Regions from separate parts of the Homo sapiens genome. Here all the other regions are linked to region 1. The links are contacts of gene promoters, found by promoter capture Hi-C in blood cells and fetal thymus (Javierre and others, 2016). All regions are on one chromosome and are shown on one strand. Each heading gives the region's core, a stretch centred on a gene start or on the middle of the fragment in contact. The rest is flanking DNA. Distances are from core to core; before and after follow the strand shown. Region 1 holds the start of CNTRL (centriolin). Region 2 overlaps PSMD5 (proteasome 26S subunit, non-ATPase 5). Region 3 overlaps GSN (gelsolin). Region 4 has its middle 5.3 kb from the start of PSMD5. Region 5 overlaps GSN (gelsolin). Region 6 has its middle 2.7 kb from the start of GSN. Region 7 has its middle 23 kb from the start of PHF19.

Region 1 (3,361 bases), core at 366-2,865:
TCCCTACTCCTTGCCTAAACTCTTCTTTTGGGCGTAGAAAGAAGTATTGCTTCTGGGTAACCTTTGTCTAATAATGAAATATCTAAGACATATTGAGAACTTACTATGGGTCCCTCACTGTTCTAAGTTCTTTCACAGAGATTCACTTTTATAATTATCAGGAAAACTGGACTTTTTTTTTTTTTTTTTTTTTTTGAGATGGAGTCTCGCTCTGTCGTCCAGGCTGGAGTGCAGTGGCGCGATCTCGGCTCACTGCAACCTCCGCCTCCCGGGTTCAAGCGATCCTCCTGCAGCCTCTCAAGCAGCTGGGATGACAAGCGTGCGCCACCACGCCCGGGTAATTTTTGTATTTTTAGTAGAGACGGCGTTTCACCTTGTTGGCCAGGCTGATCTTGAATTCCTGACCTCAAGTGATCCTCCCACCTTGGTCTCCCAAAGTGCTGGGATTACAGGCATGAGCCACAGCGCCCGGCCAGGATTCACTTTTATAATTATCAGGAAAACTGTAGGAAGTGTTAATAGGTAAAAGGACCTCATTTCATAGATAAGGAAACTGAGACACAGAGAGAGAGGGAGTTTCTAAAAGTGTTATACAGGTGGCCTATAAACTCTGTAGTGAAGAAAGGAAATGAAGACAGGATAGAATGATCGCGAGAAAATGGTAAGAACAAGGGACTGGAAGACGCAAGGAAGTTTAGAAATACGCTGGCATAGGGGTCTTTTGAGCAGGCACGCTGCTAAGATGATAGGATTATAGTCAAGGATGGGGAGCGATTGCACTGGGGATTTCTGGAGCGGGTGCAGCCTCTGATGGTAACATGGTCCAGGGTATACCTTCAAAACGGGAGGCTACTGGAGTGAAAGGCGTCAATGGTGATAACACTTTAAAAAAAACTTCAGTGTTTCCCTAGCATCCAGCCCAGTATCTGCTAAATTCTTTAAAATATCTGTTGAATGCATGTCGTGAACGCCGTGCTCATGGGCAAGCCCCAGATGAAGCCTGTGCAAGTGCTTCTTGCTTTAACTCCCTTGTAGCAATCAGAGGAACATCCTCTGCCTAGGATTCCCAAGCTCCCTGAACCTCACGCGACAGCTGGAGCCCAGGCTGCGTCCGCTTTGAGGTTCATCCGAGCCTGGGCAGTTCGGTCCCTGGAGGGAATTCGCTTTAGATACGACTGTCAGAGAGAAGTGTGCTGATAAGAACACTCGCTCATAGCGCGCAAGCATCAGAAGTGGGGGAGGCCGGGGAGGCGCTGCGCCGGTGCCTCAGGCCGTCCTCGGACACAGGCCCTGAGAAGCGTGTCCGTGTTTCAGAGGGTGGCGGCGGCAGCTTTGTCTCAGCGAAGGCCACAGCACTGCGGGCAGCTGCCGCATGAAACCTCGGCTCCCCCTGACTCTGCACCCGACACTTCACCTGCAACGCAATCCGAAGGCGAAGGCACCGCATCCCGTCGGCCCCGCGCGGCCGGAAGCCTCGCGCCCAAGACTCCCCGGCATCCTAGCGCGCTGGCTGCAAAAGAGGCGGGAAACGCCTCCGCGTCCCTTCCAACAGTACCGGAGAGGGAGAGGGGCGTGGCTGAGACTAGCCCCGACCACGCGCGCGCGGCCCCTCGGCAACCGGCACAACACAACAAAATGGCTGCCGCGCCGCTGGGCCCCTGAGGAAAGAGCCCGAACTTCTCCCGCTCTACCTCAGCCTGCGGGACTGCTCGGCTCGGCTTCTAGGCGGTGAGCGTCAGACCTGGCCGAGCCCGTTCCCCGGCATCCGGCCCGAGCAGTGGGGGCCGGCGGCAAAGGCGGGAAGGCCCGGACCGGGCGTGGTGTGGGCCGGCTTGGGATGGATTCGGGGCGGGGGCGCGTGTCTGGGAATTGGGATTGGACGGGAAAGAGGGGAGGGCCCGGAACGGGCGTGGGGCGGTGGATGAAGGAGGGAGGTTTGGATGGGAAGAGGTGGGGACGGCGGGGGCGATTGGGGATGAAGAACCAGAGTGTGGGGAGGTGTGGAAGTTAGGGTGCGGCGCCCAGAAGGTTGTGGGTCCTGCCACCTGAGCTGAGGGGAGAGCTGGGATGTGCCAGCTGTCTGTGGGGAGTGAGCGGGAGAAAGGACAGTTTGGGCGTCCTGACGGGTTGTCACGGTATCGGACGGAGTACAGTGCGTGGAGAAAGATGACAGGATATGGGGACGAAATGCTAAAAGAAGGGGAAGAACAAACACTTCCGTTATATTCGTTAAGGGACTAGAGAATTTTGAAGCCAGACAAACTTGGGTTGAAGCCTCAATTCTGCCACCTTGTGTAACTTAACCAGGTCTGTGACCCTGGATATGTGTCTGAGCCTTCCTGATCATGTTTCCTCATTTGTCCAAATAATTGCGAATCATTTTTGGGTGTTCACTATTTGTCAGATCCAGTTTTAAGCACTTTGCACGTATTAACCTCATTTAGAATTTAAAATAACTTGTATGAGGTTATCATCCCCATTTAAAAAGTGATAGCACTGAGGACCAGAGAGGTTAAGTAATTTGCCTAAGATCACACAGTAAGTGGAAAATCAGAATTTGAACTCAGGCTGTTTCGTTCCAGAATCCAAGCTTTTAACTGTTCAGGTACATTGCCATTTGTAAATCAGGTTAATAATTCTGATCCTATACAGCTAAATCTTTGAGGATTTAAATTTGGTATTGTCTAAGTGTTTAGTACAGTCCTTCAGTCAACAAATATTTATTGTTTATAGAACAACAGACAAAACCTCTGCTCTCTTGTAGCTTATAGTCTAGAAGGAGAAACAGGCAACAACCAAGTAGTTTCACAAATAATGGTTATAAAATGCTATGAAGGAGACTGCTTGGTGCAGAGATCATGGGTAATAGGGAGATAAAATCTTCTGCATCTTGAGCTTAGATTCTAGCATGGTTCTTCCTACATAAAAGTTGCTCAATAAAATTGAATAATTAATGGAAAGAGATGGGAAGCTTGAGTTTTAGGGTATCTGAGCAGAAGAAGAGAGATGGGAGAGGGGATTCAGGCTTTTAATAGGATGGAGAAGGATACGGGGGCTAGAGTATTAGGATGGAAAGGCAAATAGGCAGGCAGTTGGGTTGGGATGAAGAGGAATGGATGGAGGTTTGAGTATTTTGTTTAGGGAGGGGAGTAATTGGAGGTCAGAGTATTGGAACGCATTAGGATGTCAGGGTATTTTCTGGGGTGAAGAGAGATGAGCAGCTTGGGAAGTCTGGATGGATAGAGAAATGTTGAGTCTGGGCACAGGAAAGAACCATAGAGAAATGGGGGAGACTATTACTGTGTTAGGGAACTGGGATAGAATTTGTGGGAAAATTGGCAATCAGAATGGGATAAAGAAG
Region 2 (3,361 bases), core at 380-2,879, 240 kb before region 1:
ATGAGTTTTAAAAAATCCATTATTTGTCTCTTTAAGTAGAAAAACTTCAGTGAACGCATAAGAAATTACTTTGGCACAGATTATTATTATTATTATTTTTGAGACAGAGTCTCACTCTGTCACCTAGGCTGGAGTGCAGTGGCGTGATCTCAGCTCACTGCAACCTCTGCCTCTTGAGTTCAAGCGATTCTCGTGCCTCAGCCTCCCCAGTAGCTGGGATTACAGGCATGCACCACCACACCTGGCTAATTGTTTTGTATTTTTAGTAGCGATGGGGTTTTGCTATGTTGGCCAGGCTTGTCTTGAACTCCTGCCCTCAAGTGATCTGCCCGCCCTGGCCTCCTGAAGTGTTGAGATTACAGGCATGAGCCACCATGCCCTGCCACCTTGGCACAGAAATGTTCCATTATATCTAGGTGTATCAGCACTTTCCCGCCCAAGCAATCATCAATCAGGGTACAAAAGCCTGAATCAGCCACAACAAACAGATTATAAAACCATTCACTCATTCAGGCATCCTGTCAGTCAGTCAGTCAGTCATTCACTCACTCATTCAGCAAGTATGTTCTGAGGTCTTACTGAGAGATATAGGAAGACACTGAAGGGTTTTAAGCAGAGAAATGACACAATCAGATTTGGACTTTTAAAAGACCATTCTGACTGCATGAGAAGATAGACTAGGGATGATAAAAATGGATGAGTGGAGACCAGTTTGGATGCAAATATAGTAGCCCAGGTGAGTGACACCAGTAAGTTAGTCTAGGGTGGTAGAAGCTGTACTAATGAAGAGAAATGCAGGGGTTTAAATAAAATCAACAAAATATGATGACCGAATGGATATGTGGCAAGGAAAACAGGCCTCAGAATGAGCCAAGGTCTAATACCCAACTAAGCAGACTGTGAGACACAGCCAGTTTGTTGTCTTATTTTTTATTAGGGGGATAGGGTGGATAAGGAAGATCAGGAATTTGATTTCAGCATGAGTTTGAGTGGCCTAGAATATACCCAAGGGGCCAAGAGTGAGTAAGCAGTTGAGCATGAAGGTTCGAGCTCAGAAGAAAGGTCTCAGTTGGAAGTTTACATCTGAGAGGCATCATCACTGATGGGAAGTGAAATCATAAGTGAGTAAAACTGCCTAGGAATGAGTAGAGTACCGTGAAAGCAGGGCTTGGAACTCTGTTTTCATCAACTCCAACAATTAAAGATTCAACGGAGGATAATGAGCCAGGAGGCTGAGAAGAAACTGAGAGGTAGAAGGAAAAGCAGCATAGTATGGTATCATGACATGCAAAGTAAGAAAGTGTTCTGAAGATGGAATTAGACTATAGAGGATTCTATTTCAAACATGCACCCTATTAACTGTGTGGTCTTGGATCAATTGCTCCATCAATATGAGGTTAATGATAACAACATACAAAGTTTACTGTAAGAATTAAAGATAATATATGTGAGTATTTTAGCATAGTGCTTAGTACAAAGCTGGTACAAATAAGGGCCATTTCTTATTACTACTACAAATTTTTTCAAGTCTGGTTTCAATATCTTCTCTATCATAGTAATTATATTGCACTGTAAATATATATATATATATAAAAAGGGTCTTGCTCTGTTGGCCAGGCTGGAGTGCAGTAGTGCAACCACGGCTCACTGCTGCTTCAACTTTCTGGGCTCAGTTGATCCTCCCACTTCAACCTCCTGAGTAGCTGGGACGACATGCACATACCACCATGCACAGCTAATTTTTAAAATCGTTGTAGAGATGGGGTCTCACTATGTTGCCCAGGCTGGTCTGAAACTCCTGGCCTCAAGGGGTCCTCCTGCCCTTGCCTCCCATAGAGCTGGGCTGTAAGTATTTTTTATGACTGTCTCACATACTAGGCTGGGAATGCATCCTTATATTCCCAGCACCTACTGTAGGGCCAAACACAGATTATATACTTAATGAGCCATCTTGCTTTTCAGCATAAGCCAAACTGCATTCTGCTTTGTAAGCATGAGAAAGTGTGCTTTTTATCTTACCTCATACACCCTGTATCGAACAATGTCATTTGTTTTCATTACACTTTTCAAATCATCCAGCAGATTGCTTTCAAATAAAGCCTCCAGTCCAGCTTGGGTTAGTGATATTCTTGACAGGGATTTGATAGCCTTATAACGAAAGAAAATATCTCTTACATTCCCAAAATGCAGGTTATTATCTACTTCATAAGAGTGATGTAAAAATAGTGCATGGAATGCACCTTGCCCATGTTTTAGCTATTATTTATAATTGGAAAAGACGCAAGGTATCCCCCATAGAATTATGATGGATACTGTAGATATGTATATCCTAGAAAATGAAAGGGGTTTACTAGTATTTACTTGACAACCATTTATTTTACACAATCCATATGAAGTTGTAAATTCCATTACGCAAATCATCCATTCTAAACCTTCACCTCTCAATTCAGAAGGCCTTTCTTTATCTTTTGGGACACCGATGTCTCTGCACATTTAAGTCAATGATTCTAGTAGACTCACCGCTTTTGCTACAGATAGATTCTCTCCACCAATGCAATAAACAATTTGTTTTAGTAATTCAGCATTATTTAGAATCTCAGTAACAGCATCAGAATTTTCAACAATTCTTCCAATCTGAAAGAAAAACAATCAGAAACACTCTTCTAAAGTAGGGCAACATACGGTAAACACACGATGGTCCAATTTCCTTAGTGCACAGTTATTTTAGGAGTTAGTGATCACAGCTATATATCAATTCATTAAAAAATCAAAATGACCTAAATTCATTCAGTCAAACACACATATGGTATAGTCACATCTTTGAAAGGAAAGAAAAAAGAAAGTGGGTAAAGAGGTAAGATAGTTCAGTGAGTGAAAACAATACAAACCCAGCTCTATGTTTAGCTACACTGACCTTGCACAAATTTTAGCCCCATTTCTTATCCGTAAAATGGGAACACAATATTTAATTCCAGGATAGTTACGAAGATTAAATGAGACCGAACAGGCAAAGCACCTGCTACAGTGTCTGGCATATAAATGGCCAGTGAATAAACTGATATCTTCCCCCTTTCCCCCAACCTTTTTTTTTTTTTTTTTTTTTGAGATGGAGTCTCACTCTTTCGCCCAGGCTGGAGTGCAGTGGCGCGATCTCAGCTCACTACAACCTCTGCCTCCTGGGTTCAAACGATTCTCCCACCTCAGGCTCCTGAGTAGCTGGGATTACAGGCACCTGCCATCATGCCCAGCTAATTTCTGTATTTGTGTAGAGACAGGGTTTCACCATGTTGGCCAGGCTGGTCTTGAACTCCTGACCTCAGGTGATCCGCCTGCCTTGGCTTCCCAAAGTGCTGGGATTACA
Region 3 (3,361 bases), core at 607-3,106, 230 kb after region 1:
AGGAGAATCACTTGAATCTGGGAGGCAGAGGTTGCAGTGAGCCGAGATCGTACCACTGCATTCCAGCCTGGGCGATGGAACGAGACTCTGTCTCAAAAAAAAAAGAATTATTTTATAAATAAATACAGAGAATTTTTAAGAAGTGAGATTTATGACATGAAGCAACCCTTTTCCTTTTTAAAAAATAGGGTAAAGATTTTAATAACAAAAATGAAAGGCATACTTCAACAAGTAAAATATTTAGAGGGGTAAAAATTTTTTCTTTCCCCCCATTTCCTTGTCTCCGAGGAATCAATAGAAACAGTGAGTCCTTCTAGCACCTTTTGGAAAAGGTTTGCACATCCACTCTCTCATTATGTCCAGGTGAATGAAGTCCCCTGGTCAGGAGTTCCTAGGCTGACAGTTGAATGAAGCTGGGTCCCTGGAAGGGGGATCTTGGGGATAGAACCCAGCACTGCCGCCCAGCACTGGGCTCTGGACACAATGCTTAATCTCTTTGAATCTCAGTTTCCTTGCCTTTGAAGTGGGAAAATTATTAATAGTTCCTGCATCAGGGGCTTGTGGTCAGGACTTCATTGCATGCACTTAAAGCAGGTGCCCCAGCTTTGGCAAAGCTCGGTAAGTGGCAGCCACTGTGCTTGTTTCAGGTAAGCACAGCTGAGCACAGGTGAGCGCAGGTTGTTGCATTTTCTTCCCTGGCGGTTCTTCCTCACTTGCTCTGGGCAGGCTTGGTTACATCGGTCTCAGAACCCTCCTGTCTTTCTGCGCTTCCCCTGCCTTTCTGCGCTTCCCCTGCATTGCCCTGACCTATGTCCTTTGCACTCTGCCTGGCTCTCCAATCCCAGGCCTCACGGCCATCCAGCCTTCGGACCCCCTCAGTTGTGACTGCAGTTGTGACTGCAGCTGGTCAGTCCCTCACCCCAGAGTCCCAACTCACTCCTTCCTGATGATGGAAAAATTTACTGTCTTGCTTCCCAGTTTTGGGCAGCAAATTCAGGAGCAGAAGTCACAGTCTTACCCCTTGCTCCACACCGAGGTCAGTCATAGTGTGGCCAACCCACAGCTCCCTTGAAGGGGCCCTGGAAGCAGGGTGGAAAGATAGGTTGTTAGCTCTGTGAGCACTGGCCGCCCTGCTAGTCCCAAGGGACTCTTGAAAGGCCTTAGCTGAGACCAAGAAGGGACACCAGGGAGTCCTCCAGCCACTGGCAACCCAAAAACATCCATTACTTGAAAGAGGGCTCTGAATAATGGCTTGTTCCTGCCTCCCATCCTGGATGACTGAGTGATCTTTGCTCTAAGAAAACCTGATATTGGCTGGCACAGTGGCTCATGCCTGTAATTCCAGCACTTTGGGAGGCCAAGGCGGGAGGATCACATGAGGCCAGGAGTTCGAGACCAGCCTGGCCAACATGGTGAAACTTCATCTCTACAAAAAATACAAAAATTAGCTGGGCATGGTGGTGCACATCTGTAATCACAGCTACTTGGGAGGCTAAAGCACAAGAATCGCTGGAACCCAGGAGGTGGAGGCTGCAGTGAATTGAGATTACACCACTGCACTCCAGCCTGGGCAACAGAGCGAGAAAACCTGATATTGAGAGAAGAATGTGGATCTTACAGATTCAGACATGCCTGGGTTTGAATTCTAGCTCCACCACCTTGGGCAAGTCCCGTCACCTGTGGGCCCCATTTTGCACATCAGTGCGATGCAGCAATGACACCTCCCTTGCAGGCGATGCGTGAAGAATGCCCGGCACAGTGGGCATCATCATTTCACAAACACGTATACTGCTGACACAGGAAGACAGAGCAGGAGCCCAATATACACGGACTCCGTTTGTCCCTTGCCCTCCTCGAGTCTGTGCGGCTAGAATTAGACTTAGCACAGTGGGCTGAGGGGCCCTGGATGGGGTGGCTGCATTGCTGGCCTGAGTGGAAGCCCTCTGCTTCCACCCCCATGTGTCTCCGGAGCAGGGAGACGAGCACCCGATTGGGAGGAGGAAACAAGGTTTCCAGCCTTGGCTTGGCCACGCACTTGCTGAGTGCCCTTGAGTAAGTCACTTCACTTCTCTGGGCTTCAGTTTACCGTGGGTAAAGTGGGGTGAAGTAGAAGGACCTTTCCAACTCTGATTTGACAACTCTGGGGCATGGAGCTGGGGACTGCTCACAGGAAAGCCCAGCTGACTTTCCTTGGCTTGCTTCTGAGTGAGGGCAGTTGTGACTGCAGCAGGGAAGCTCTCCTGAACGCCTTGCTCTGGGATGCAGTAATGATTACAGAGGGCTGGGGAGCAGGAGCTTGTGTCTCCACTTCAGAAAGGAGAGGCCTGAGGCTCGGAAAGGGCAAGTGACTTACCCAAAGCCATCCAGCATTGTTGTGGCGGGGCACCTGTCCCTTACCCATAGCTGCTCTGAAGGGACTGCTGGGTGGGAGTTGCTGCGGTACCGTAGGGGAAAGCAGAAGGGTGGCATGGGCTGGAACAATCCAGAAAGACTTCCCAGAGAGCCTTGAAGGATGAGAAAGATTTGGATTAGTACCTCTCAAAGTGGCTTTTGCAAAATACTCAAGCTGGAGGCAGGATATGGTGAAGAAAAGTGGTTCTTGGGCTGGGTTCAGTGACTCACTCCTGTAATCCCAGCACCCAAGGATCTCTTGAGGCCAGGAGTTCAAGACCAGCTTAAACAGCATAGTGAGACCCCATGTCTACAATAAAATAAAATAAAATAAGTAAGCTGGGCACTGTGGCTCATAACTGTAGTCTTAGCCACTCGAGAGGCTGAGATGGGAGGATCATTCAAGTCCAGGAGTTTGAGGTTACAGTGAGCTGTGATTGTACCAATGCACTGCAGCCTGGGACAGAGTGAAACCCTGTTGAAAGGAAGGAAGAGAGAGAGAGAGCGGAAGGAAGGAGAGAGAGAGAGAAAGAGAGAAAGGAAGGAAGGAAAGGAAAGAGAGAGGGAAAGAGAATGAAAGAAAGAAAAAAAGAAAGGAAAGAAAAAAGAAAGAGGGAAAGAAAGAAAAGCAGTTCTTGGTTCAATAAGATAGGGAAATACTGTATAAAACAAAAGGCAAGCAGGTGTATTCACCATAGGATTTGACAGAGCCTTTATTATGCACATGCGCGTTGTATAACAGTCAGGGAGGGTGAGTGAGAAGCATTCCCTATGCTTATTTGACCGTGGAACTCTTTCCTTGCAGAATGTCTTAGGGGACTAGTGTGCCTTTGGGAAACGCCGGTTTTGAGGAAGGAATTGTTGCAGTTTTTTTGATTTAGAAAGTGGCTACAGGGGTCCTTGTTAGTGGAGTATGGGATTCAAAGGGGTGGCAGAAAGATGCAGTGGGCAGGGAATCTCTCACTTCTTA
Region 4 (3,361 bases), core at 274-2,773, 230 kb before region 1:
TAGAGGTCTGTAAAGGAGATGACTATGCTGTTAGGGCTGTGGTAGAAACCTTTAATAACAAGTGAAAAGAGCTTGTATTTGCCAAAATGAACACAGGATATGATTCTTTTTTTGCTTTTGCTTTGGAGTTGTATCAGCTCTGTGCGGTCACATGGGTATCTACAAATCAAAGCACCCATCAACCAGATGCATCTCTGAGAGTTAACAGCAGAAGGTGGCATAATAAAAGAAGTTCTCGGTAGTGAAAAAGGTTGGAAACCACCAGCTAAACCAATCCTCTTGTACCAATAGGAGATTCAAGTTGAGAGGTGGGAAAGGGCCTATCTCAGAGTAGGTGCTTGAATACTTCTTACTAGAATGAAAGAAGGAACTTAAGATCACACAGCCATGTTACTGCAGGACGGGGAATGGAACCTAGGTCTTCTTATTTTTGGTTCAGTGTTAACTCCCATTCTCTAAGCAGACTGGGCCTGTTATTCAAACTGCCTTCCCATAGGTGCTTCCCTGCTTCTCTCCTCACCCAGAGAAGGACTTACAAACAGCTTATCTTCAGAGGTTTTGTGCCTGATAGTTATGGAATGTGCTGGTTTGAGCAGGGAGGATGTAAGGGGAGGGAATGCTAAAAGCCTGTCTACTTAGAGTCAGGTTTCCTGGGTAAGTCCCTGGAACCCCATCCCCTTCCCCTTTCTTGAGACCCCAGGACTTGCTCCAGTAACTGCCACCCTGTGCCTTTGCTTCAGGGCCATGCTGGATAAGGAGCTGGCTGCCTCTGTGAACATCCTACTCAAGGCATCTTCACTGTGAGTTTTGCTGTTGCCATTGGAGGGGGAGTGGGGGGAGTGTGGGGAGTGCTAGGGTCAGGTCCTGGCTGGTGTAAAGAACACTGAATTAAAGGAATTGTCAGAATAACTCAAAGGCATTTAGATAATCAACAGTCCATTTCAGTGTTTTTATTCAGAGATCGATCGATCAGTGGGATGTTGTCCAACAAAAGCAAAAATAGACTGTATAGAGAAGGAAGGAAAAACTGCATAATTTAGGAACAGTATATCTTGTTTGCACATTCTTTGGTTAAATCAATTAGCCTGCTGTTAGGAAGGAAGTCTGGGCATTTTATCCTTGAGTAAACCAACTAGGGATATCAGAGAAAACAGTTTCCAATGCTTTTGGATTCTCCAGAAAACAGACAGTTTAGCATATATGACAGGCTGCTTCTGCGTATTGTCTACCTTTCATTTCATTAACAACTTCACTTTAGAAGCCTGGTCTGCACCATTTCCCTCATCACAATACTTTAGCATCCTGGCACTAGCTGTGCAGGATTTGTCGTACGTCTTCCTTTCCCTGATGATCATGTTTCTCATTTCCTTCCCTCTCTCCCTTACACCCTCAAAAGAGAGAGACATAATATACATTCTCAAGGTCATATAAGCTATATAATGAAAGCTACCTTTTTCTCCCCAGTGATGTTATTTCCTCAGTGGCTCACACCATCTGTAGTCATAGTTCCCAAATTTGGCCATGCGGTCTATCCCTGAACTCCAGCCTCAATCTATTCAATTAGTCGCCCTGAGGATGGGGCCCAGGTCTCTGAATTTTTAAAGACTTGTATAGATAAGTCACATTTAGCCAGTCTGGGAACCAGTGTTGGGAAATTGAATAGAATTTCATCCTACTATTTCCTTTATATGCCCATCCTTTCTCGTGATGTATTATTTTGCCACAGTCCTGTGACACAGGAAGGGCCAGTGGCCTTGGTCATCTTAGATTTGCCCTTGTTGATCTTCTCAGGGTAAATGTCTTTCCTTTCCCCTGATGGTGTTCTTATACTGTCTTCTGATCATCATTTCTGACTTTGTTTTCAGCATCTAAAAGTTTCCATAACTATAAGGCTTACTTCTTCCCTGCAGTCTTCCGTGTTTTTAGTTATTCATTTATGGGCACTCTCCTTGGAAAGTCAGTGATCAAAATAGCACTAGTGTGTAGGATGAGCACTGGAAGAGCTCAAGCAGAGAAGACATAGGAGTTTCTGCAGGGCTGTCCTGGGGTGGTTCTTGATGAGGCCAGTTGGGGAAAAAGCTAGGTGGCAGATGTTGGCACACTATAAGAAAAAGCATCTTGTGAAAACCTTTAAGTTAGATGGACTTCATCAAGAGATGATGAACCTCCCACCTCCAGGAATGTTCAGGCAAATGCCAGATGCATGCATTGGAATCGTTGGACCAGATGACATGTGAGGCCTTGGTCAACTCTAGACTTGTTTATATAGGCTTGGAAAGATTTTAAAGTTTTCTCCTCAGTAGGTCACTTAGGTGGGCCAGGTTTGACACTTCACTGAGCTCCTCTTAGGAGCATCATAATTTGGTTTTGTTCCCTTCTCCAGGTACTTTTGGGAGGGAAAAATAGAAGCCACTAACATCCTGTTAGTGAGGATGTGAGTGTAGGGAGTCTTTTTTTTTTTCTTTTTTTTTTGAGACGGAGTCTCACTCTGTTGTCCAGGCTGGAATGCAGCGGCATGATCTCAGCTCACTACAGCCTCTGTGTCCCGGGTTAAAGCGATTCTCCTGTTTCAGCCTCCCAAGTAGTTGGGATTACAGGTGCCCGCCACCATGCCCGGCTTATTATTTTTTTTGTCTTTATTTTTTGGTAGAGACAGAGTTTTGCTATGTTGGCCAGGCTGGTCTTCAACTCCTGGACTCAAGTGATCCACCTGCCTCGCCCTCCTACAGTGCTGGGATATAGGCATGAGCCACCACACCCAGCCTGTTGTTTGTTTTTTCTTTTCTTTTCTTTTTTTTTTTTTTAACCATTAGTGCAAATGTCAACATAGTAAAAGGATAAATAATAAAATAATATTGTTATGAAAGTAGTTTTGACCCCATGGACCCCCTAGAGTCCTGGAGATCCCCATGGGTCAGTGGACCTTCACTTTGAGAACCTCTAGTATAAACCTTTATCATTCAGAAGTGGAATTTTTGGAATTGGCATCACCTGGGAGCTTTCAAGAACTGTAGAATCTCCTGCTCACCCCAGACCTACCGAATCAAATTATAGTTTAACAAGACCCCCAGGGGATTTCTGTGCACATTAAATCTTGAGAAGCACTGGTCTAAACCAGTGTTTCTCACCGCTGGCTGCTATGTATTAGCATCACTTGGAAACATTTTTCAAACTACCAATTTAGGCCCCACCTCACAGATTTCGACTTAATTTGGCCAGGGCGGGGATCAAGTATAGTGGTACTAAAAAGCACCTTTCTTTTTAGATGACTCTAACGTGGTCACCTGAACCTTCTGAGGTTGACTCTAACGTAGGGCCAGAGATGCAAACCACCTATATGGATGATGAAACCTTTTCTTTA
Region 5 (3,361 bases), core at 247-2,746, 210 kb after region 1:
TCTGATGAGAGCTGATCTTCATGCCACTGTGTACAGTAGGTATTTTTTAAAGGTGTGTAGAAGTGAGAGTCAGACTTCGGACTTCAGAGTCAGACAGCCCTGAATTCCTAATGGTGTAACCTTGGGCTGAACCTCTCTGAGCTTTTGTTCCTCCGTCTATAAAAGGAGACAATGCCAGCCATGGGTTTTGGGGAGGATTCAACAAGACAATGCTTATAAAGTACTTATCATCACAATGGGCTTCTATGAGCATAGGAGGTGTTATTTGCAGATGGGGACGTTCATTCCGGGGACGTCCCTATCTAGGGCCCCACACAAGGGAGTGGCTGAGACTCCAAGTCTTGGAGCCTCCGACTCCACCCTGTGTTCTCCCTCCCCTCCCTCTCTTGGCCCCCTGGGCCTATTCTCTTCCCCAGATCAGGGAAAGCTTTGTTTGGCGATTGTTTTTCCTAAGAAGTTTCCTCTGTGGGGCCTCTGGGTGACTCAGCCCTGAGTCACCGGGAGGCTGAGGACAGGGGGAGGAGTGGGAGGGAGGCGGAGGGAATGGAGAGACGAGAAGAGGAAAGGGCTCTAATTCTAGCCCTGGCTCTCCCACTGTTTGATCAACTAGGTCTGACCAGGCCCCTCTCCTGCCTAGCCTCAGTTTCCCCAAATGTGAAAGGAAGATGTGGGCCCAGTCCTGGCTGAGCCTCAGAATCAGAGGTTCCCGGGCCCCACCCTAGACCTACAGACTCAGAGGCTAGGGGTGGGGCCTGGGAATCTATTGTTTCCTGAGCTCCTTGGGTGATCCTGCTGCACACCTGGTCCACAGAGGTGTTAGGGAACTGCTCGGCTCAAACTGGCTCCCAGCTGGGCCTCAGAGCAGCTCGGCCTCTGATTGAACTTCACTGACCCACAGGGAGCGCCCTTCTCTTGCAGAATGCTTTGGCAGAATAGTACACAGGAAGCGTGTGGGCTTTTTTTTTCTTTTTTTTTTAAAAACAGCTTTATTGAAATATAATTTACATGATTTATTGGAGTAAATTTACATATAATTTACATACACATAATTCACTCAATTCAATAATGTTTAGTACATTTACAGAGTTATGCAACCATCATCACAATCCAGTTGAGAAGATTTTCATCATCCCCAAAAGGATCCCTCATGCTTGCTTACGTCCATCTCTATGCACACCCCATAGCTGACCACGCATCTGCTTTCTGTCTCTTTGTTGTTTTATTGTTGTATTTTTTGTCACCCAGGCTGGAGTGCAGTGGCGTGATCTCTGCTCACTGCAGCCTCAACTTCCTGGGCTCAAGCGATCCTCCCACCTCAGCCTCCCGAGTAGGTGGGACCACAGGCACACACCATCATGCCTGGCTAATTTTTGTATTTTTTGTAGAGATGGGGACTTGTGGTGATGCCCAGGCTGATCTTGAACTCCTGAACTCAATGGATTCCTCCCGCCTCAGCCTTCCAAAGTGCTGGGATTATAGGCATGAGCCACCTCACCTGGCCTGCTTTCTGTCTCTCCGAAGATCCAGAGCTGTGTTCATTCCAGCTGGCCCTGTGACCTCATGCAAATTATTGCCCTTCCATTACTCCTCTGTATGAGAGGGAATAATCCTACCCTCCTTGTAGGGGGTTGTTTGAATTTCACTAATGTGCACAGTGTCTGACGCACCCGAGGAGCTGGGCACGTGGGAGGCTGGTACGCAGGGCACAGGACATAACACAGATGCCCAGGTACGGTTGGCACAGGCCTAGCAAACATTTTAAAGCACTCACTCTGTGCCAGCTTCTTAGATTAAGCATCTTACATGCATTACCTACTTTAATCCTCGGTGAATGTGAGTATCAGTTTCATTTTATAACTGAAGAAACGGGCACTGAGACGGGAAGTCACTTTTACAGGCTCACATAGATGATAGTTGATAGGGCTGGGAGTCCATCTGAGAGCCTGTCCTCCCTAAACATCATCCTGTCCCCTTCCTGATGTGAATCACCAAGCAAGGGACAACACAATTCATAGATCCAGGACAAGGTTTATGGCACATACTTCTAAGGGGTGGGACCTGGTATCATGGACACGGCATTCAAGAGATAGTACATGGTATAGAGTCTGTCACAAAACAGACATCACATGGTGCATGAAGCATGACCCAGGGGTAAGAGGCATGGGATGCCGCTAAAGGGAGACACACAGGACAAAGCAAGAGGAACGCAGGGCCTGCTACGTGGCACAGTCACAGGGTATGTGACACTGGGCATGACAAACTCTATGATGCAGAGACATGGTACTTAGGATTTGAGACTTGAGCTATGGCAACTGGGCAGGCTCTTGGCCACAGTGGGACCCTTTGTCATCAGGGATCCTCCATTATGTTGGTGCCTGGGGCCCCAGCAAGCAACAGCAGGAACCAAGTTCCTCCTCCTCACAAAGGCAGTCTGTTTTTTTTTTCTTTTTTTTCTTTTTTTCTCCCTCCTCCTCCCTGTCTCTTTGGATGCCAAAGAGTGGGAGGGGCCCAGCGGAGTGGTGGCCAGAGTAACCCCCCGCCATCCCATCAGCTCAGACAAGGGTCAAAGCTTGGGGCCAAGCCCACGGCTCAGGAAGGGTTTGCCAGGCCCCCAGATCCCCTCTCTCTGAGATAGCTGTGAGCACCAGTGTTGGCTGGGGTGAAAGCCGGGTAATTTTCCTCTAAGCTGTCCTCCCTCCGCTCCCCTCCCTGCCTGCTGGTGCTGGCTGTGAGCACGTCTGCATTCCAGAGCTTAGGAGAGAGAGAACCTGCTGCTGTTAAGGTTGAGGAAGTAGATTGCTAACAGCTGCTGTAGGAGGGGTTGGATGTGCGGAAGAGGAGGCCGTGGATTGCAGGCTAACATTTCTTGAGCCTCTTGGCACCTGGCACTCACTACCTCATCTTGTCTCATTTGCATAAAGCCCCAGTAGCCCGGTGAGGAGACAGGCCCAGAGAGGCAAAGAACTTGCCTAAGGTCACACAGGGAGGCAGAGCCAAGGCTAGACCTTGGTCTCCCGGAGGCAGGCAGGTGAGGTTGTATAGAGGTGATGGCACAGGGGATGTTGTTGGGGGGTTAGTGGGCAATGAGACTGCAAGGGCTTGTGGGCCCCATATCACAGAGGACCGAACTCAGGAGTCCTGACTTCTTTCTGTCTGCACCGAGGTCTGCAGAAGGGATGATGCAATCTGTATGAGTGACAGGCCCAGTGCAGAGAGAGTTTAAGGGAGTGAGGGAGCTGATGTTATGATCCCAGGGAAAAGATGGGGACACCAAACCAGGACAGTGGCTGGAGTGTGGGGGTGAGAAGTGGGTATAAAGTGGAGAGGAGATGAGCTTGGTCTCTGCTCTGGTCTCAGCCTT
Region 6 (3,361 bases), core at 536-3,035, 190 kb after region 1:
GAGGTTGCGGTGAACCGAGATTGCGCCATTGCACTCCAGCCTAGGAACGAGAGGGAAACTCCATCTCAAAAAAAAAAAAAAAAAAAAATCAGGTCTCATGAGAACTCACCATCATGAGAACGGCATGGGGGAAACTGCCCCCATGATCCAATCACCTCCCTTCCACCAGATTCCTTCCTTGACACATGGGGATTATGGGGATTACAATTCGAGATGAGATTTGGGTGGGAACACAGAGCCAGACCATATCAATTTATAATTTACTTAATTATAAGTTTATATAGATTGTTATTGAAGGCTGTGCTTAATACAGCCTTAATACAGCTGGGTGTAAGAATGCATGGAAATTTGGCCAGGTGTGATGGCTTACTCCTATAATCCCAGCACTTTCAAAGGCTGAGGTGGGAGGATCTCTTGAGCCCAAAAGTTTAAGACCAGTCTGGTAACATAGAGAGACTTCATCTCTACAAATAACATAAAAATTAGCCAGGCCTGGTGGGATGTACCTGTGGTCCCACCTACTTGGGAGGCTAAGGCAGGAGGATTGCTTGAGCCCAGAGGTCAAGGCTGCAGGAAGCCATGTTTGTGCCACTGACTCCAGCCTGGGTGACAGTGAAATCTTGTCTCAAAAAAATCCACAAAAATTCATGGAAATTGAGCAATCAGTTCGTAAGAAAACAACACTAAACACACTAAATCAGTTCTTAAGAACACAACACTAGCACAACACTAAAGGGGACCGAGGCTGGAGAAAATAACAGTCTCCTTTCCTTCTTCCAGCTCTGTCTTTCTCTGACCTCCACACCTTTGCTTATTCTGTGCTCTTAGCAGAAGATGCTGTTCCCTTCCTCACCTCCACTCTTATTCTTTCCATCCTTTCAAGGCTGACTGAATCCAAGCCGTTGTCTCTGCTTGGCTTCCCCTCCCCTTTTCTCTGGGAAGTGCACCCCCTCCACCCACAGGTTACAGTGGGAGCAGCCAGGTTTGTGCAGTAGGACCCTGTCACTCGGGCCAGAGTTAATTAGATAAAGGGTAGGCATCTGATCCAACTTAGAATGTGGACTACAAACAAAGATTCCAGCTTGCTGCTGGTAAAAGCCATTTTCTGGAAAGCAGAAATGCTTGTGTGATGTGAGCAGACAGGCAGAGATGAAAGATGGGGGAGAGAGTACTTTCTGGGTTCCCTTTAGTACTCAGGTCCTGCTTGTGGTCTGATCCTGAGGCCCAGCTGCACCCCTGCCCTAGTGTTCCATGGGATATTTCAGGATCTCCTGAGAGTGCTCTCTCAAGTAATCCCTTGTATGAAATCCCTGTCTCATCCTCTGCTTCTAGGGACAAACTACAAGGCATTCGATGCTCAACAAATACTTGTGCTGATAACTTCTCTTTCTGAAGCCAGCTCCAGGAGAGGTCTGTAATCAGAAGAGCCCCTGAACCCTGAAGCCTCCTGGGCTGCCCAGCCCAGGCATCTCCTCTGTGAGTTTTGCGACACCCTTCTAGTCATTTAACGAGCCTCATTGGCTTTCTCTGTGAATACGATGGAAGATGGCCACCTCAAAATGGCAGCCTTGGCCTTCAGAGATCATTGGTCCTCACAGACCCAGTTAATTAACCATGATTGTCATGTCTCAACTTCCAGCTCCAAATTCTAATAGTCCAGCTTTTTTCTGCCGTCCACTCCTCATGCTGTCAACTGTGTTGTGGGGGAAGGTTACAGTACAAACCTGGGTGCAAGTGAGGGCCATCCCCTTGGGTGGGAAGAGGCGTTCTCAGAGGAGAGAGCAGGTACCCCCAGATTGTCTAATGCCTGGCCTGTGTGTGGCCTTCATTTCTCCCCAGCCTCACTCTGGGAAGGAGGTGGTCTTCTGGCAAAAGAAGATATCAAAGTTCTTCCATCAGAGGAGATCCTTATCAGCAAGACATTCACTCTGAGGTGAGGATCCAGGACAAACAGGCCTTACCTTACCTAGATCCAATGGGGGGAGAAGTACAAAGAGGTATCTAGAAAGGAATGAAGACAGGATACCAAGAAGACTTCTAGGCATCCATGAAAGGCAGACTTGATATATCCTGCCAGCTATAAAATACACATGTTGAGTCATAAAGCAAAGCACCAGGAGATTTCTAGAAGTGTTCCTAGAGGAGCACTCCCATGTAAGTATTGGTTATCATCATCACAATCATCATCAATCAATCATCATCATCATTATCTTCATTATCATTTCTAATGATTCCTGGTGATACCCTGTTCCCATGTTCCTCTCCAGCCACCAAATGGAGCAATTACAGGGTTATGGGTAGGCATCTGACCCAGCTTAGAATATGGAACCTTAGATCTAGCTTAGAATGTGAACCCTTTTGCTCTCCTGGCCTCAGTTTCTCCATCTCTAAAGGGAGGAGTTGGAGCAGACATTCTCCAATGTTTCCTCCATCGTGATGTGGTATTCTCCAGTTCTATGGGGACACAGATTCAGAGTTCCACCTCCCTTTGTCTGAGAGCAGTTGCTGGGGCTGGAAATGATATGTTAGATAATTCCAAGGCATGTGTATGCCGGGGCTTGTAATCAAAGATTCCAGAGCCAAATAAGCCTGTGTTTTTGCTTTTCTCCCCAGCAGCCTTGCATTGGGCCCCAGGCAGCCTCTGGAGAAAGCAGAGAGTAGCAGAGATGGTGTGAGCCTCCCTGCGGGGTGGATACCTTGCTTGTATTCTCAGAGAAAGTGGAACTGGGCAGAATTTCCCAAGCCAGGAAAGGTGGCAGAGTGTGACATAAGACATTGAGCAAAGAAGCGAGGGCCAAGGACTCAGGCATAGAAGAGTAGACTGCACAGTATCAGTAGTGTGACCTCCAGAGAGTACTTAACCCTTTCTGTGGGCTTGGCCTGCTCATCTGAAAAATACACATGGTAATGCCTCCCTTAGGAGGCCAGGTAGGGAGGTGAGAATTAAAGTCGGTAATACGTGGGAAGCCCAGAGCATGGCATGAGGCATTCAAGAAATGGTTCTTGTATTTACTGGTGTTGAACAAAGAGAGAATGGCAGGAGGAAGAGCCAGGGTGAGATTCCCTGGGTCCTGTGGCTTCCCTGGCTGCTATTCAATGGAAAAACCAGGGAGTGAGCACTGTGCTCTTGGCTTCTGTGCTACTTAAACAACAGCCTTTTCTGCTCTGATCCCCAGCACCCGGCAATTACTGACTCTAGTACATTTTACCTTGTGTTAAGAGGGAGCTTTACCCTGGCTGAACATGGGGCTGCTGCCAGCACCCAGGCTGGGAATGGACATCTCTGTCATGTGGTGCAGTCTCCTGTGGAGTGTGTGAATCCTTCCAAACCGGAGTCACGCGGCAACTCCAAAAGTCCTGG
Region 7 (3,361 bases), core at 317-2,816, 170 kb before region 1:
TATGAAAGTTTCATGGAGCGATGTAGGTAGAGCCTGCAGTGCCGTGTCTGGCACTAGCTAAGCACTCCATGATTGTTTAAGATTATCTTATTCCGGCCAGGCTCGGTGGCTCATGCCTGTAATCCCAGCACTTTGGGAGGCCAAGGCAGGTGGATTACCTGAGGTCGGGAGTTTGAGACCAGTCTGGCCAAGATGGTGAAACCCCATCTCTCCTAAAAATACAAAAATTAGCCAGGTGTGGTGGCAGGCGCCTGTAATCCCAGATACTTGGGAGTCTGAGGCAGGAGAATCTGTTGAACCCAGGAGGCAGAGGTTGCAGTGAGCCAAGATTGGACCACTGCACTCCAGCCTGGGCGACACAACGAGACTCAGTCTCAAAGAAAAAAAAAAAAAAGGCCAGGCGCAGTGGCTCACACCTGTAATCCCAGCACTTTGGGAAGCTGAGGCAAGTGGATCATGAGGTCAGGAGATCCAGACCATCCTGGCTAACATGGTGAAACCCTGTCTTTACTAAAAAGTACAGAAAATTAGGGCATGGTGGTGGGCGCCTGTAGTCCCAGCTACTCGGGAGGCTGAAGCAGGAGAATGGTGTGAACCTGGGAGGCAGAGCTTGCAGTGAGCCGAGATCACGCCACTGCACTCCAGCCTGGGCGACAGAGCAAGACTCCGTCTCAAAAAAAAAAAAAAAAGATAAAAAGATTCTGTTATTCTTACACTGGCACCCCCACAGTGGACAAAGCAAGTGGCTTCTGCAATTGGCATCCTTACGACAACATGGTGAAGTTAGAATTTTCACTCTCATGGCAGAAGTAGAAGCTGAGGCTTAGTTAGCCTCTGCTCTGGAGCTCAGTAGAGGAAAGTAGATGCTGTTTGTCTCACTGGGGCTAAGCTTTTTTGAATGCAGAGGCTGTGTTACTCTCCCCAGCCCAGGCTGTGAGCACGGTGTCCTGCCCACAAGCTTCTAAATCCATCAGCTCCTCCAGTCCCACAAGGCAAATCCCCTCCTCAGTTCCCCCAGGGTGAGTCCCAGCATGACACTGGTGCAGGACACTGCCCTTCCATGCCTCAGTTTCTCCATCTAAAAACAGTTGTGATCATTTCAGCCCTGGCGTTGGTATCAAAAGACCCGAGTGTGAATGTTGAGTTGGAATGGCCTTGAGCAACTGACTTTTCTTTTTTTTTGAGACAGAGTCTTGCTCTGTCACCCAGGCTGAAGTGCAGTGGCACAAGCTCGGCTCTCTGCAACCTCCACATCCTGGGTTCAAGTGATTCTCCTGCCTCAGCCCGCCGAGTAGCTGGGGTTACAGGCATGGGCCACCATGCCCAGTTAAGTTTTGTATTTTTGGTAGAGACAGGGTTTCGCCATGTTGGCCAGGCTGGTCTTGAACTTCTGACCTCAGGTTATCTGCCCACCTCAGCCTCCCAAAGTGCTGGGATTACAGGCGTGAGCCACCGCACCCGGCCTTGACTTCATTTTCTTAGTTTCTGTGTCTTTGCCTGGAAGAAGGGGCTAATGGTAGAATGTGATAACAGGATGTTAAGTGAAAAGGGAGAGCCCAAAACAGTAATCAATATGATTCTAATTACATTTTTAAAAGTCAATCTACATGTATGTGTTTGTATCTACTTTCTCAAAAATGCAAAGAAAATCAACCAAAATGTTCCCAGTAGTACTCTCTGGACACTGGGCTCATGGGTGATTTTTGCTTTCTTCTCTATATGACTTTTGTACTTTCCTAGTTTTTCTTTTATTTTCCTTTTTTGGACAGGGTCTTGCTCTGTCACCCAGGCTGAAGTGCAATGATGTGATCACAGCTCACTGCAGCCTCCAACTCCTGGGCTCAAGGGATCCTCCTATCTCAGCCTCTTGAGTAGCTGGGAGTGCAGGCATATGGCACCATGCCCAGCTAATTTTCAGTTTTTCTATAGAGACGGGATCTTGCTATGTTGCCCAGGCTGGTCTTAAATTCTTGGCCTCAAGCAATCCTCCTGCCTTGGCTTCCCAAGTGCTGGGATTAGAAGCGTGAGCCATTGTGCTTGGCCTAGTTTTTCTATAATGAGTATGTGTCTCTTACAATCAGGAATTAGTAATTGAAGGCATAAATAATAGTTGCCCTTACTGCCCAGGGTTGCCTGAGGATTGCCTGTGGACACCCGTGAGGTGGCCTCTGTGAGCAAGCTTGTATGGCACTGACTGCTTGCCCTGCCCTCCTGGGGTGCTGCCAGGCTGGCATCAGTAGGTACCACAGGGCTTGCCCTTTGGCTGGGGGTAGAGGGACCTACTGCCTCCATGAAGATATGATCTCATCGAAGCTGAAGATTTCACCCAGAAAGGAGAGGAAGGAAAGAAACTGGAAGCAAATACCTGATTTCTTTTTTTTGTTGTTTGAGACAGAGTCTCGCTCTGTCTCCCAGGCTGGAGTGCAGTGGTGCGACCTCAGCTCACTGCAACCTCTGCCTTCCGGGTTCAAGCAATTCTCCTGCCTCTGCCTCCCGAGTAGCTGGGACTACAGGCATGTGCCACCATGCCCAGCTATTTTTTTTGTATTTTTAGTAGAAACAGGGTTTCACTATGTTGGTCAGGCTGGTCTCGAATTCCTGACCTCAGATGATCCACCCGCCTTGGCTTCCCAAAGTGCTGGGATTACAGGTGTGAGCCACCACACCCAGCTGCAAATACCTGATTTCTAATGCCAGTCCCATCCCTGCCTCCTTGGGCCAAGCACTTGGCTTTTCTGGCCTTAGTTTCCTAATCTGTAAAAGAGGATTAAAGGGTGCTTGCCACACCGTTGAGGGAAGGGGTTGCATGTAGCCCCTCGGACCCTTGGCTCATTTGGATTAGGAGTCACAGAAACCAAGTAAGGAGTGCACCTTATGGCCAGACCCAGGGAGCCGGCAGCACCTGGTATTCTAAGTGCACTTCAGGGGCTGTTAAGTGATGAGGATCAGATGTTCCTCCCATCCAGCAGGAAGCAGGGGAAGGTTCTGATGCCCCAGTCAAGTCTGACTGGCCGTTGGGGGCAAAAGGTGTGACTGAAGCACTGACAAGGTGGGTGGAGGCACTAACCTGTAACACCTCCTCTGGCTTGGAAAGTTTTGCTTCATCAACTACAGCTGGAACCTCCGGGGGCAAGGCAGAAGGGCCAGAACAGGGAGGTCTTCTACTGAGGGGCTGTCATCGATGTCCTGAGACATTTGTGGAGCTTCTGGTATACACAGTGCAGACAGTTTCCCCTGAGAAGCTGATTGTCTAAAAGTGACACAAACCCTCTTCCCTGCCACGTGCCCCCGAAAAGCCCATCAGAAACCTGAATGGCTTCCCGTTGCCAACTGAAGCATCCTCACCCTGTACATTAGAACC

What was found. Contacts are between HindIII fragments. The CHiCAGO score rates a contact against its expected background, and 5 or more counts as called.
Region 2: a fragment that was not itself captured here is called in contact with the fragment with the promoter of CNTRL in region 1 in 8 of 17 cell types (naive CD4 T cells, total CD4 T cells, naive CD8 T cells and 5 more); the score reaches 17.0 in naive CD4 T cells.
Region 3: a fragment that was not itself captured here is called in contact with the fragment with the promoter of CNTRL in region 1 in 1 of 17 cell types (naive B cells); the score reaches 5.1 in naive B cells.
Region 4: a contact is called between a fragment that was not itself captured here and the fragment with the promoter of CNTRL in region 1, in 14 of 17 cell types (naive CD4 T cells, naive CD8 T cells, total CD4 T cells and 11 more). The highest score is 35.0, in naive CD4 T cells.
Region 5: a contact is called between a fragment that was not itself captured here and the fragment with the promoter of CNTRL in region 1, in 1 of 17 cell types (megakaryocytes). The highest score is 5.2, in megakaryocytes.
Region 6: a contact is called between a fragment that was not itself captured here and the fragment with the promoter of CNTRL in region 1, in 2 of 17 cell types (naive B cells and total B cells). The highest score is 6.7, in naive B cells.
Region 7: a contact is called between a fragment that was not itself captured here and the fragment with the promoter of CNTRL in region 1, in 9 of 17 cell types (naive CD4 T cells, activated CD4 T cells, fetal thymus and 6 more). The highest score is 11.0, in naive CD4 T cells.

What each region holds. Positions count from the first base shown.
Region 1 is chr9:121,073,340-121,076,700 of GRCh38, forward strand. CNTRL (centriolin) reads left to right here and starts at 1,616. Exons shown (of 44, transcript NM_007018.6): 1 at 1,616-1,728. It also overlaps a transcript of C5 not described here. RefSeq lists silencers at 880-1,076, 1,701-1,760, 1,881-2,020 and an enhancer at 1,191-1,580. The HindIII fragment of the contact is 4,047 bases long and covers 1-2,588 here.
Region 2 is chr9:120,829,312-120,832,672 of GRCh38, forward strand. It overlaps PSMD5 (proteasome 26S subunit, non-ATPase 5), which reads right to left. Exons shown (of 10, transcript NM_005047.4): 3 at 2,521-2,634; 4 at 2,020-2,148. Among named protein-coding and RNA genes, the nearest start is that of PSMD5, 12 kb to the right of the region's middle. The HindIII fragment of the contact is 5,177 bases long and covers 1-3,361 here.
Region 3 is chr9:121,307,087-121,310,447 of GRCh38, forward strand. The region is part of intron 4 of GSN (gelsolin); the gene reads left to right. Among named protein-coding and RNA genes, the nearest start is that of GSN-AS1, 23 kb to the left of the region's middle. The HindIII fragment of the contact is 5,040 bases long and covers 1-3,361 here.
Region 4 is chr9:120,846,554-120,849,914 of GRCh38, forward strand. It overlaps the pseudogene CUTALP. Among named protein-coding and RNA genes, the nearest start is that of PSMD5, 5.3 kb to the left of the region's middle. The HindIII fragment of the contact is 6,542 bases long and covers 1-3,361 here.
Region 5 is chr9:121,286,727-121,290,087 of GRCh38, forward strand. All of the region lies in intron 2 of GSN (gelsolin), which reads left to right. Among named protein-coding and RNA genes, the nearest start is that of GSN-AS1, 2.9 kb to the left of the region's middle. RefSeq lists an enhancer at 1-545 and a silencer at 685-979. The HindIII fragment of the contact is 2,142 bases long and covers 426-2,567 here.
Region 6 is chr9:121,263,822-121,267,182 of GRCh38, forward strand. It overlaps a transcript of GSN not described here. Among named protein-coding and RNA genes, the nearest start is that of GSN, 2.7 kb to the right of the region's middle. The HindIII fragment of the contact is 6,397 bases long and covers 1-3,361 here.
Region 7 is chr9:120,898,823-120,902,183 of GRCh38, forward strand. It overlaps a transcript of PHF19 not described here. Among named protein-coding and RNA genes, the nearest start is that of PHF19, 23 kb to the left of the region's middle. RefSeq lists an enhancer at 3,030-3,119. The HindIII fragment of the contact is 1,221 bases long and covers 957-2,177 here.